2 separate regions of the Homo sapiens genome follow, and region 1 is linked to region 2. Evidence: promoter capture Hi-C in human tissues and cell types (Jung and others, 2019). All regions are on one chromosome and are shown on one strand. The core of a region is centred on a gene start or on the middle of the fragment in contact, and the rest is flanking DNA. Distances in the headings are between cores, read along the strand shown. Region 1 overlaps TMCO4 (transmembrane and coiled-coil domains 4). Region 2 holds the start of AKR7A3 (aldo-keto reductase family 7 member A3).

Region 1 (7,356 bases), core at 4,857-7,356, 420 kb before region 2:
ACCACCATGCCCAGTTAATTTTTTTGTATTTTTAGTAGAGACGGGGTTTCACCATGTTGGCCAGGCTGGTCTTGAACTCCTGACCTCAGGTGATCCACCTGCCTTAGCATCCCTAAGTGCTACAATTATAGGCATGAGTCACTGCGCCTGGCCCATTTTCCACTTTTGAAAATGGGAAACCTGAAGCCCAGGGAGGTTAGGTGACTTCTCCAAGGGCACCCAGCCAGTAATTAGCAAGCCTGGGATTCTAATTCATGTATGTCTAAACCATTTCCTGTTAACCCTTCTTTTATGCTGCCTTTTCCGACAAGCTTGCTGCCCTCAAAGAGCCTACAACCTAGTTAAGAAAATAAGATGCCAGGCTTAAAGCAGGTGAATAACAGAACCAAATGCTGCATCTCAAGGGCCTAGACTTTAAGGGCTGCAGCAGTTCAAAGGAGGAGCCTTTCCTTCCAGAAGGCAGGGAGGGCGCCAGGGAGGAGAGGGCAGGCTTTGAAGGACAGGTAAGCCTCGAGAGGCTTCGAGGCAGGCAGAAGGCCGGAGGGCGCAGGACTGGCAATACCCAAAGTCCAGAGGCAGGAAGGTGCATGTGCTGGGAAGGGCCAGTGACTGCAGCCAAGGTTTCTGCCAGGAAGTTGTGAGAAACAAGGCTGGAGAGATGAACAGGGTCCAAAATGCAGGGCTTGGCCCGTCCAGCAGAAAGCAGAGACCTGGACTCAGGCCCTGACTTGAACCTTCAGTAGTAGCATTTTCACTTGATGTAGTTAATTGATCTATCAGCCAGCAAATGTCTCCTGTGACCTACGCCATGACATCCCAGGACCTGTGCAGGGCGCAGAGGGAACAGCAATCAGGCAGACCCCATTTCCACCAGGTGTGATCTCAGAGGGGAAGGGACCTCCTCCTGAACACCCCATCCTTCAGCCAGTCCTCCCTGCAGCTGGGGAAGCCACACACCCTCTAGTCCTGGATTCCTCTTTTTAAAAATTTAATTTCATTAATTAATTTTATTTATTTGAGATGGAGTTTCGCTCATGTTGCCCAGGCTGGAGTGCAATGGCACAATCTCGGGTCACTGCAACCTCTGCCTCCCAAGTTCAAGCCATTCTCCTGCCTCAGCTTCCCAAGTAGTTGGGATTACAGGCGCCTACTACCATCCCAGCTGATTTTTGTATTTTTAGTAGAGATGGGGTTTCACCATGTTGGCCAGGCTGGTCTCGAACTCCTGGCCTCAGGTGATCCACCCACCTCGGCCTCCAGTGTGCTGGGATTATAGGCTTGAGCCACCGCGCCCGGCCCTGGATTCCTCTTTTCTCACCCGCTCAGCTTCCTTGAGGCTGGCGGCTCCAGCATGGATGCCCAGGGACAGGGCCTCCATGGATACCTGTTGAACTGCACCAAGAGAAGGATGAAGTACCATTTTCAGGTCGGGCCCTTTGCAAGTGGTGTCTCCTCCATCTGCACGGCCAGCCTGGAGGGAGGACACCAGAACAGTCCCTGTTTTTCGAGAGAGCAGGTGCAGGGAGCCCAGGAGATTTATTCATGGTCACACAGCTTGTAAGTGATGGAGCCAAGGGAGGGCCGCTTACCTGTCTGACACCCACACCAGGGTTCTTTCTACTGACCCTTTATCTGTCCCTTTAATTAAAAAAAACAAAACAAAACAAAAAAATTGGCCAAGAGTGGTGGCTCACGCCTGTAATCCCAGCACTTTGGGAGGCCGAGGAAGGCAAATCACGAGGTCGGGAGTTCAAGGCCAGCCTGGCTGACATAGTGAAACCCCATCTCTACTAAAAATGCAAAAACAAAAAAAAAAAAAAAAGAAAGAAAAAAGAAAAAAAAAATAGCCGGGCGTAGTGGCAGGCACCTGTAATCCCTGTAATCCCAGCTACTGAGGAGGCTGAGGCAGGAGAATCGCTTGAACCCAGGAGGCAGAGGTTGCAGTGAGCAGAGATTGTGCCACTGCGCTCCAGCCTGGACAACAGTGTGAGACTCCATCTCAAAAAAATAAATAAATTAATAATAATAATAATAATAAAATAAAAATAAAATAGAGAAGAGGTCTCACTATTTTGCCCAGGCTGGTCTCAAACTCCTGGGCTCAAACAATCCTCCCGCCTCGGCCTCCCATAATGCTGTGATTCCAGGTATGATCCAGTGCACCCGGCCTGTCCCTTTAATTCTATAGTTGAGGGTTTACCCAAATGGCCTTGCCCTCCAGGCAGGGCTAAGCCCAGAGTCCCATACTCATGGCTCCATCTCAGGGACTCCAGGGAGGGGCAGGCTTTCTAGGATGTGATCAGACCCCACTCCCAGGGCGCTCCCTCCGTCTCTAATGGGAATGGCATTGTAGGAAGCTCTTGGGGTAGGGTTCTGCCAGGGAGATGCCCGGGGCTTACATGGTCACCACAGCACCACCTGGTGGCAGCTCTCTGGTGTGCACACTTTCATAGAGGAAAAGGCCACTTCACAGCCATTTCTGCAGCCATCCCTCCTCCAATCCCAGCCCAGGGGGCGTGTCCAGAGGGTGCTTGCTGGGGAGAGTTACCGACTGCCTTTCCTTGAGGGCTCGTGCAGAACTTGGCAGCTGCTCCTATATCCTGAGAAATTTTCATGTCGTCAGTTATATCCGTCTTGTTTTCATTTGACTTGATAAGCATTTATTAGGCACCAAATATACAAAGAGTGGAAGGAACTAATATTTATCAGATACTCGCTGTGACAGGTGATTCTAGACATCATCTCACAGAACCTTCCCAATGAAAACCAGTCTCTAAAAACAATTGTTTTTAATTAGCCATGACTGGTAACCTGTGCCTGTAATCCCAGCAACTTGGGAGGCTGAGGTGGAAGGATCACTTGAGCCCAGGAGTTCAAGGCTGCAGTGAGCTATGATTGTGCCACTGTACTACAGCCTGGGTTATATACAGTGAGACCCTGTCTCTAACATGAATAAATAAATAATTTGTTTTGAGACAGTCTCATTCTGTCACCCAGGATGGAGTACAGTGACACGAACACCACCCTCCGCAGCCTCGACCCCCTCCGGGCTGAAGTGATCCCACCTCAGCACCCCCAAGTAGCTGGAACTGTAGGTGTGCCTGGCTAATTTTCAAATTCTTTTTGTAGAGGTGGGGACTTCCTACATTGCCCAGGCTGGTCTCATGCTCCTGGCTCAAGTGATCCTGCCACCTCGGCCTCCAAAAGTGCTGGGGTTACATGCATGAGCCACTGCACCTGGCCATACTTTTTATTTTTTATTTATTTATTTATTTATTTTGAGATGAAGTTTCACTCTTGTCACCCAGGCTGGAGTGCAGTGGCGCGATCTGGGCTTACTGCAACCTCCACCTCCTGGGTTCAAGCGATTCTCCTCCCTCAGCTTCCTGAGTAACTGGAATTACAGGTGCCCACCACCACGCCCAGCTAATTTTTGTATTTTTAATAGAGACGGGGTTTCACCATGTTGGTCAGGCTGGTCCCGAACTCCTGGCCTCAGGTGACCCGCTCGCCTCAGCCACCCAAAGTGGTGGGATTACAGGCGTGAGCCACTGCACCCAGCCTAAATGATTTTTTAAAAGAGAAAACTGCTCTGGAGAAAATAGGTTCTCAATCTAGGCTACACAGATTCCCATGTATGAGTAGCTGTAAAGATGAGTTTTCAATCCAGTCTTATAAAACCACCATGAAGAAAGGTTGCAGAAACAACACAATCAGAATTAGACCGTTAGTGCCCAGCAGAATGGTCTGAAGAAGCCCTCCCCACCCGCTAAGTATGTTACAGTTTTTAAAGACATAAATTTAAACTTTGAAAATAAGTGGAAGGAACAAGACATTGAAAAAAAGAATACGGAGATCTGAAAATAAATCAAATGTAACTTGTAGAAATAAAAAAATAGAGTCATTACAATGAATACTGGATAAATTAAAGTGGTTTAGACAAAACTAAAGAGAAAAATAATGAACTGGCTGGGTGTGGTGGCTCACACCTGTAATCCCAGCACTTTGGGAGGCCAAGGTGGGTGGATCAGTTGAGGCCAGGAGTTTGAGACCACGCTGGCCAACATGGTGAAAACCCGTTTCTACTAAAAATATAAAAATTAGTTAGATGTGGTGGTGTATGCCTGTAATCCCAACTACTTGGGAGGCTGAGGCACAAGAGTCACTTGAACCTGGGAGGTAGAAGTTGCAGTGAGCTGAGATCACACCACTGCACTCCAGTCTGGGTGACAGAGAGAGACTCTGTCTCAAAAATAATAATAATAATAATGAACTGGAAGATTGATTTGAAGAAATTAACCACAATGCATCATGGAGAGATAAAGAGATGGAAAATAGGAATTAAATTAAAGTTTGACATTTGCTTATAGAAATCCCCAAGAAAAAGAGAATAGGGGAGAGAGATAATTTATTGGCTGAGAATTTTCCAGAATGAATCTCTGCGCTTCAAGGAGCATGTTTTTTTTGTTTTTGTTGTTGTTGTTGTTGTTGTTGATATATTTTTAGAGACAGGGTCTTACTCTGTCATCCAGGCTGGAGTGCAGTGGTACAACCATAGCTCACTACAGCCTTGAACTCCTGGGCTCAAGCCATCCTCCTGCCTCAACCTCCTGAGTAGCTGGGACCACAGGTGCACACCACCATGCCCACCTGGATCTTGCCTAAAGGATTCTACCTGGGCTCACTCCTCCAGTTCTTTATGTGGATCCTGCCTTAGCCCAGGACTCCCAAAACCACATCCCCAAAAGCCAGCCACTTGCCAACAGCCTGCCATCATTCCCAGTGTTTCCCCCACCCCTTCCCCTTCTTCCTGGGTGAGAATTTGGAGAAAGATTCATCCTGAACTAGTGTCTTAATGGATTTAACCTGTTGCCCACTACACATGAGCCATCAGTATGTTGCAGTGTTTCAGACATATTGTGTACATCTGTGGTAGACTGATGGCAAAAAACGGCCATAATTCCCACCCCTGCCTGTATCCACATACTTTACAATGTGACCTTGAAACCCCTCCCATCAAGAAGTGTAGTCTGTTTCCCCACCCCTTGAATCTGGGCTGGCCTTGTGACTTGCATTGGCCCATAGAAGGCACAGGAAATCGCATCATGCCATTTTCAAACCTAGGCCTCAGGAGGCCTTGCACGTGAATTCCACTCTCTCCTAGAACCTCACCATAAGAATGGGTCCAAGTTAGTTCCTGGGGGGATGAGAGACCCCACCGAGCAAAGCTGGCTCATCCCACCCAGCCTCAGCCTAGCTGCCAGCTGGCTGCAGACACATGAGTGCACCCAGTGGGATCAGCCATGCCTGGATGATTTTAGCAGAATTGCCCGGCCAATTTGTAGGCTCATGGGAAATAATCACTGATTATTTTAAGCCACTGAGTTCTGGGATGGTTTGTCACACGCCAATAGCTAACTGATAGAAGACATATGGCCTTCTATGTCCCTGTGTCACATTTTGATAATTCTTGCAATATTTCAAACCTTTTCACTAGTACATGTGCTCACCTTAAGCCTCTGTGACACATTTGGTAATTCTCACAATATTTCAAGCCTTTTCTTTTTTCTTTTTTTTTTTTTTTGAGACGGAGTCTCGCTCTGTTGCCCAGGCTGGAGTGCAGTGGCATGGTCTCAGCTCACTGCAACCTCTGCATCTCAGGTTCAAGCGATTCTCCTGCCTCAGCCTCCCGAGTAGCTGGGATTACAGGCACCTGCCACCACGCCTGGCTAATTTTTTGTATTTTTAGTAGAGACAGGGTTTCACCATGTTGGCCAGGCTGGTCTCGAACTCCTGACCTCATGATCCACCTGCCTCAGCCTCCCAAAGTGCTGGGATTACAGGTGAGAGCCACTGCACCCAGCCAAGCCTTTTCATTATTATTGTATCTGTTATGGTGATCAGTGATGTTTGATGTTACTATTGTAATTGTTTTGGGGCACCACAAACATTGTCCATATAAGACGGTGAACTTAGTAAATGTTGTGTGTGTTCCGATGCTCCACCAGCTGGCTGTTCCCCACCTCTCTCCCTCTCCTCCAGCCTTCCTATTCCCTGAGACACAACAGTATTGAAATTAGGCCAATTAATAGCCCTACATGATGGATAGCTGGGCCCAGTGGCTCATGCCTGTAATCCCAGCGCTTTGGGATGCAGAGGTGGGAGGATTGCTTGAGCCAAGGAGTGTGAGACCAGCCTGGGCCACATGGCGAAACCCTGTCTCTACCAAAAAAACTAGCAAAAACTTTACCGGGCACCATGGCTCATGCCTGTAATCCCAGGACTTTTGGAGGCCAAGGTGGGTGGATCACCTGAGGTCGGAAGTTCGAGACCAGCCTGACCAACATGGAGAAACCCCATCTCTACTAAAAATACAAAATTAGCCAGGCATGGTGGCGCATGCCTGTAATCCCAGCTACTCAGGAGGCTGAGGCAGGAGAATCACTTGAAACCAGGAGGTGAAGGTTGCAGTGAGCTGAGATCACGCCATTGCAATCCAGCCTGGGCAACAAGAGCAAAACTCTGTCTCAAAAAAAAAAAGCAAAAAATTAGCCCAGCATGGTGGTGTGTGTCTGTAATCCCAGCTTCTCAGGAGGCTGAGGTGGGAGAATCACTTGAGCCTGGGAAGTCGAGGCTGCAGTGAGCCGTGATTGCGCCATTGCACTCCAGCCTGGGTGACAGAGCGAGACCCTGTCTGAAAAACAAGCAAATAAATCTCCCTACAATGACCTCTAAGTGTTCAAGTGAAAGGAAACATCACACATTTCTCACTTTAAATCAAAAGCTAGAAATGATTAAGCTGAGTAAGAAAGGCATGTTGAAAGTGAGACAAACCAAAAGCCAGGCGTCTTGCATCAAACAGCCAAATTGTGAATGCAAAGGAAAGCTTCTTGTAGGAAATTAAAAGTGCTGCTCCAGTGATCTCAGAGTGTGGGAAAATAGCACCAACAGACTTAGTTGAAGCAGGGCTGCCACAAACCTTCAATTTGTAAGACACGTAATATCTGTGAAGTGCAGTAAAGCAAAATGCAATAAAATGAGGCATGTGTGGTACACGTAGAATGAAACTTCTTGTTCTCTACTGGCTCACCGCCTGCAGCTTACCAGCAGCTATATTTCTCAAAGTTCTATTGTTAACTCAAACTCATCTTTCTGATGGGAAAATTGAGTTCCCGTAGCAGGATGTGGGCCAATTGCCTAACTCTCCATCAAAGACTAGAAAGTGTGTCGTGTTTCACATGGCCCCTGTTCTTTTTCATAGCAGTATCTGTTCACCCACCTCCACTTTGGCACATGTGCTAGAGATTACCAAAGCAAAAGGCCACATGCTCTTGGCCGGGTCTATACATCGGGATA
Region 2 (6,997 bases), core at 3,316-5,815:
TGTTTGTATTTACTACTGTATTCATTTTGCTAAATTTTAAAAGGATTTTTGAAAAAAATAAAGAGGATTTTGTGTCTAGATCCATGAAGGATATGTGTGTAGTTTCTTTTCTTGTAACATCTTTGTGTCATTTGGTATCTGGTAATGCTAGCTTCAAGATGAGTTGGTAAGTGACCTCTCCTCTTCTATATACTAGAAACATTTGTCCAGAATTGATGTTGTTTCTTCCTTAAGTGTCCAATGAAGCCATGTAGACCTGGAGTTTTCTTTGTGGAAATATTTTTTTTTATCAAGAATTCAATATCTGGGCTAGACGAGATGGCTCACACTTGTAATTCCAGCACTTTGGGAGGGTGAGGCAGGAAGAATACTTGAACCCAGGAGTTTGAAACCAGCCTGAGCAATATAGCGAGACCCTGTCTCTACAAAAATATTTTTACAAAATTAGCCAGGTGTATTGAGGTGCACCTGTAGTCCCAGCTACTTGGGAGGCTTGGGCAGAAGGATCGCTTGAGCCCAGGACGTTGAGGCTGCAGTGAGCTATGATTGCACCATTGAACTCAGAAGACAAAGCAAGACCCTGTCTTAAGAAAAAAAAAAAATTCAGGTTGTTGTTTTTTTTATTTTTTTAGACGGGGCCTGGCTCTGTCGCCCAGGCTGGAGTGCAGTGGTATGATCTTGGCTCACTGGAACCTCTGCCTCCTGGGTTCAAACGTTTCTCCTTGCCTCAGCCTTCCAAGTAACTGATTATAGGCACACACCACCACACCCAGCTAATTTTTGGATTTTTAGTGGAGATGGGGTCTCAGCATGTTGACCAGGCTGGTCTCCAATTCCTGACCTCAAGTGATCTGCCTGCCTCGGCCTCCCAAAGTGCTGGGATTACAGGCATGAGCCACTGCGCCCGGCTGTCTCATTTTTCCTTACTCATTTTCCAAACACATTCCTTACTCATTTTCCAAACATAAACTTTGGTAGTTTGTGTTTTTCAAGGAAATTGTCCATTTCATCTAACTTACTAAATGTATTCACATAAAGGTTTTAATAATCTACCCTATTGTCATTTAAAATGTCATTTAATGTCATTTAATGACATTTAAATATCACTTAAAATGATAAATTTGTATAATTTGTAGTGGTGTCTCTTCTGCTCTTTCTGGTGTGGTTAATCTGTGTATTCTCTCTTTTATTCCTGATCAGTCTAGCCAGAGGTTTATCAACTTTAGCGATGTGTTTATAGAACTACTTCTGGTTTTACTGACTTTTGCTGATGTTTTTGTTTTATATTTCATTTATTTTGGCTTTTTTTTTTCTTTGAGATGGAGTCTTGCTCTGTTTCCCAGGCTGGCGTGCAGAGGAGTGATCTTGGCTCACTGCAGCTTCTGCCTCCCGGGTTCAAACGATTCTCCCACATCAGCCTATTTTGGCTATTATTTTTATTATTTCCTTTCTTCTGCTAATTTTGGTTTTACTTGACTCTTCCTTTTGTGGTTTCTTAAAGTACAAGCCTCGGCCGGTGCAGTGGCTCACACCTGTAATCCCAGCACTTTGGGAGGCTGAGGCGAGAGGATCCCTTGAAGCCAGGAGTTCAAGACCAGCCTGGCAAACATGGTGAGACCCCTTCTCTACTAAAAATACAAAAATTAGCCGGGCATGGTGGTGCATGCCTGTAATTCCAACTACTCAGGAAACTGGGACATGAGAATTGATTGAACCCAGGAGGCTGAGGTTGCAGGGAGCTGAGATTGCACCACTGCTCTCCAGCCTGTGTGACAGAGTGAGACTGTGTCTCAAAAAAAAAAAAAAAAAAAAGTAAATGCTTACATTATTGATCTGAAATATTTCTTCTTTTGTAATATGTCAAAGTGGTGCTATAAATTTCCCTCATAGCACTACTGTGGCTGCATCTCAGAAAATTTGATATGTCCTGTTTTTACTTTCATTCAGTTCAAAATATGATCTAATTTTCCTTGTGATTACATATTTGACCCATGGGTTATTTAATTTCTAAATATGTGGGGATTTTCCAGATATCATTCCATTATTATTTTCTATTTTTCCTTTTTCTTCTATTTGTTAACTTATTTACTTATTTTCAGTTCCCTCTCAGGCTCTAAATTCTGTTATTCTTTTCTTTTCTTTTCTTTTTTTCTTTCTTTCTTTTTTTTTTTTTTTTGAGGTAGAGTCTTTCTCTGTCACCCAGGCTGGAGTGCAGTGGTGCGATCTTGGCTCACTGCAACCTCCGCCTCCCAGGTTTAAGCAATTCTCCTGCCTCAGCCTCCTGAGTAGCTGGGATTACAGGCACACACCACAATGCTCGGCTAATTTTTTTGTATTTTTAGTAGAGATGGGGTTTCACCATATTGGACAGGCTGGTCTTGAACTTCTGACCTCAAGTGATCTGCCCACCTTGGCCTCCCAAAGTGCTGGGATTAAAGGTGTGAGCCACCGCACCCAGCCTGTGTTATTATTTTCTAGTTTAATTCCATCGTGTTCAGAGATGTACTTTGTATGATTGGAATCCTTTCAAATTTATTTATTTATTTATTTATTTATTTTTAATATGGAGTCTCACTCTGTTGCCCAAGCTAGAGTGCAATGGCCTGATCTCGGCTTACTGCACTCTCCACCAACCAGGTTTAAGTGATTCTCCTGCCTCAGCCTCCTGAGTAGCTGAGATTACAGGGGCACGCCACCACGCCTAGCTAATTTTTGTATTTTTAGTGGAGACGGGGTTTCACTGTGTTGGCCAGGCTGGTCTCAAACTCCTGACCTCAGTTAATCCACATGCCTTGGCCTCCCAAAGTGCTGGGATTACAGGCGTGAACCACCGCTCCCAGCCTCTTTTACATTTATTAAGACTTGTTTTATGCCTCCAAATATGGTATATCTTGGTGGATGGGCACTTGAAAAGAATGCATATCCTGCTGTTGTTGGATATTCTATTCATGTTGTTTATGTGGAATTGGTTCATAGCATTGAGTCTTGTATACCTTTACGGAGTTTCCGTAAATTATGACTGATAACTGTTCTACAACTATTGAGAATGGTGTGTTGAAATCTCCAATTATAATTTTGTATTTATCTACTTGTTCTTTAGTTCCATTATTGTTTTTCATGTATTTTGATGATCTATGCTTAGGTGCATATATATTTAGAATTATATCTTCTTTATTAATTGACCTCTTTGTCATTATGGTATGTCCCTCTTTGTCTTTGGTAGTTGTTGTTGTTGTTGCTGTTTTGAGACAGGGTCTCAATCTGCAGCTTCGACCTCCCAGGCGTAGATGATTCTCCCACCTCTGCCTCCCAAGTAACTGGGACCACAGGTGCATGCTACCACAATTTGATAATTTTTAAAATTTTGTTGTAGCGATAAGATCTCCCTGTGTTGCCCAGGCTAGTCTCAAACTCCTGGACTTAAGCAATCCTCCCTTCTCAGGCTCCCAAAGTGCTAACATTACAGGTGTGGGCTAGTATGTCACCCACTGTGTGGGCCAGTATTCTTTGTTTTGCAATCTACTTTGTCTGATATTCACTTAGCCATTCCAACTTCTTAAAATTTAGTTTTGTCAGTGTATGTCTTTTCCCATCTTTTTGCTCTTAAACTATCTCTGCTTTTATATTTGAATAGCTTTCTGGTATTTACCATATAGTTTGGTTTTGCTTTTTTATCCATTCTAACAATCACTGCCTTTTACTTGTGAGCATTTACATCATTTATATTTATGTAATTATTGATATGATTGGGTTTAAATCAATTTTGCTATTGGTTTTTCATTTGTTCCATCTGTCTATTGGTCTTTTTTTTTCTTTTGTATTTGGAGACAGATTTGCCCTCTGTCACCCAGGGTGGAGTGCAGTAGAGCTATCACAGCTCACTGCCGCTGGGCACTGGTCCATTTTTCTATCTTTTTTTTTTTCTTTTGAGACAGGGCCTCCCTATGTTGCCCAGGCTGGGTTCAAACTCCTGGGCTCAAGTGATCCTCCTGCCTTGATCTCTCAAAGTGTTGGCATTACAGGCGTTAAGTCACCAGAGCCAGTCAGTTTTTTTTCACTTAGGTACAGAATTCAATGCCAACAGTTCTTTTCTTTCAACACTTTAACCATGTCACTCCATGGGGACGCTGTCTTGAGCCTTTGGTAAGCCTCATTCTCCAGGACCACACGGCAGGCGCGACAGCCCTAGGTCCACCCCACCCCGTAAGCGCTCCCTCCGGGAGGAGACAGAAACCCAGGACAGCTCCGGGGCAAGGCCGAGGAAGGAGGGACGACGGGGCAGGGAGGCCCGAAGAGTCCCCGCCTTTTGGGATAGTCGCCACCCTTGGACCCCCTCACCCTTGGGGACGTTGAGGAGTGTTAAAATCTCCAAGACGCGAGTCACCGGTACGAAGCCACAGCCATTTCGCTGCTTGCTCGGTGCAAGTGCAGAAGGTCCTAGTAGCCGAGCGTGGAGTCGAGCTCGTGGGCGGCGTCGGGCACCTTCGGCCGCGCCCTCAGCTGCACCCGCCGGTGGGCGGGGCCCGAGCCCGTCTCTAAAGCCACGAGGCCGCCCGCTCCGAGCCTGGTGCTTCCGACCGCTGCGCGCGGCTCCTGGGCTGTCACAGTCTCCCGTTGCCGCCGTCATGTCCCGGCAGCTGTCGCGGGCCCGGCCAGCCACGGTGCTGGGCGCCATGGAGATGGGGCGCCGCATGGACGCGCCCACCAGCGCCGCAGTCACGCGCGCCTTCCTGGAGCGCGGCCACACCGAGATAGACACGGCCTTCGTGTACAGCGAGGGCCAGTCCGAGACCATCCTTGGCGGCCTGGGGCTCCGGCTGGGCGGCAGCGACTGCAGAGGTAACAGTGGCCCCTGATCCTCCCCCTGCACGGTGCAGAGCTGAGCCTGTCCACAGCCGTGTACCGCCCCGCTCTCCCTGGCCCCGGGGCAGCACCCAAAGTTTTGTCCCCCCCACCGCCCCCACCCCTGTTCACCTCGCAGCCTTGGGAACACCAGGCTCCTTAGGCACGTCTAGCTCCGGACAACTTTTCTCTCGTCTTCTCTTCTGTTCGTCTCTCTTCTCTTCCGGGAGGTAGCCAGCACCCTCACTGACGCCTGGATGACTTGGTCTTGCCTGGAATGACTTGGCTAGCCCCTCTCTGGAGCACAAAAAACACTGGGATCTGGCATTGTGCAGCTCCTGTCCCCACCTGTGCCCTCCAGGTGCCCTTGACGGGCCTGATCTGCAGAAATTCTGTTCTTACCGCCTGGCACTCCCTGGCACAGTCCAAAATCAGAGTTTGGACCCAGCACACTATCTGCTTCCTCCTTTGCACATGCCAGCCTGCTCGGGGCCCCGGACTTTGCTCTGAGTACCTTGTGGTACTCACAAGGGCACCTCACAAGGGTGGCAGTGCCCGGAAGCCTTGGCAGCTCCCTCAGGGGGATGAGGGATTGGGGTGGTACAGAGTCTCACTGCCCTCTCTGTGGGAGGCTCTGTCGGAGGCTATTGGAGAGAAATGGACACTAACCCACTCCAGGAAGCTCCAGTTCTAGAGATGGCTGGGGAGCCCAGAGTGACCCCTTCCTGGGAGGGACCCCGTGAAGAAAGAATGGATAGGAGTTTGCCAGGAAGAGTACAAGGGGCAAGGGCGTCAGGGCAGTGGGCATGGGTGTGGAAAGGCAAATGTGTTTTGGCAATGCCGCGGGTGCTGGAGGAGGCAGGTGTGGCCGGAGGGGAGGATGTGTGTATAGGGGCAGGAGGAGCCGCCCTCAGTCTGATGCCATTTGCAGTGCTTAGGCCGATGCCTGGCAGGCACATAGTGAGGGCTGGGAAATGTTAGCTGTTTGTTTGTTCTTAGTATTAGCACCATTTGCCTCCTTCCACTGAGTGTCTGAGTGGAGTCTTATTTCTCCTCTGATTCACCACATGGTAGATCCAGAACGAACCTGGCCTGTGCGTGCATCCCAGTGCCACGCTCTTTCTAGATCACCCGGCTGCCACTCAGTGAGAGCTCTAACCATATTTCTGATTTTTTTTTTTTTTTTGAGACAGGGTCTTGCTTTTTTGCCCAGGCTGGAGTGGAGTGGTGCGATAGGGCTCATTGCAGCTTTGACCTCTCAGGGCTCAAGCCATCCTCCCACCTCAGTCTCCTGAGTAGCTGGGACTACTACAGTAGCACCACACCCGGCTAATTTTTTGTATTATTCATTGAAACTGGAGTCTCACTTTGTTGCCCAGGCTGGTCTTAAACCCCTGAGCTCAAGTGATCCTCCTGCTCTGGCCTCCCAAAGTGCTGAGATTACAGGTGTGAGCCACCACAGATCTGTACCCTCTGCCTGGCCCTTATTTCTGATTTTTTTTTCTTTCCTTTTTTAATCCTTCTTTGTCTTCTGTCTGAGTCCAAGGTTGGCTGGCGAAAGTCCTCAGATCTGATCTGAAGTTAAATTCAATTGAGAAGCAGAGGGGTGGTGGTGGAATGGAAAAATTCCATATGAATAGTTCCTCAAACCTGCTCTTTGCTAGGCCTCAAGGGCTCCAGTGACTGCCCTCCTGCCAGCCTAGGTGACTTTCTAAGTGTGAAAAGTGGGAAGAGGACTCTCCACTCACCTGTTAGTCCAGTTCACTAGGAACTAAGATTCTTTTTTTTTGTTGTTTGTTTTGTTTGTTTGTTTGTTTTTTGAGAAGTCTCACTCTGTGAGACATTGTGCTGTGGCACAATCTCGGCTCACTGCAACCTCCGCCTCCCGGGTTCAAGCAATTCTCCTGCCTCAGACTCCGGACTAGCTGGGGACTACAGGCGGGCTCCACTATGCCCAGCTAATTTTTGTGTTTTTATTAGAGATGGGGTTTCACCATGTTGGTCCAGCTGGTCTTGAACTCCTGACCTTCTGATTTGCCTGCCTCAGTCTCCCAAAGTGCTGGGATTACAGGCATGAGCCACGGCGCCTGGCCCTGAATTTCATTTCTCTTTCCTCTCAGTGAAAATTGATACCAAGGCCATTCCACTGTTTGGG

The links. The method cuts DNA at HindIII sites, captures the fragments that hold promoters and counts their contacts. A contact is called where the count stands out against the background at its distance.
Region 1: a contact is called between a fragment that was not itself captured here and the fragment with the promoter of AKR7A3 in region 2, in 1 of the 25 tissues and cell types used here (bladder).

The regions. Positions count from the first base shown.
Region 1 is chr1:19,710,848-19,718,203 of GRCh38, reverse strand. The region is part of intron 13 of TMCO4 (transmembrane and coiled-coil domains 4); the gene reads left to right. Among named protein-coding and RNA genes, the nearest start is that of HTR6, 50 kb to the right of the region's middle. The HindIII fragment of the contact is 5,014 bases long and covers 3,600-7,356 here.
Region 2 is chr1:19,286,338-19,293,334 of GRCh38, reverse strand. AKR7A3 (aldo-keto reductase family 7 member A3) reads left to right here and starts at 4,565. Exons shown (of 7, transcript NM_012067.3): 1 at 4,565-4,839; 2 at 6,963-6,997. The coding sequence starts at 4,626. LOC124903867 (a long non-coding RNA gene) reads right to left here and starts at 5,275. Exons shown (of 3, transcript XR_007065521.1): 1 at 4,975-5,275. LOC100506730 (a long non-coding RNA gene) reads left to right here. Exons shown (of 1, transcript NR_037847.1): 1 at 1-88. RefSeq lists enhancers at 3,688-4,509, 4,510-5,332. The HindIII fragment of the contact is 16,987 bases long and covers 1-6,997 here.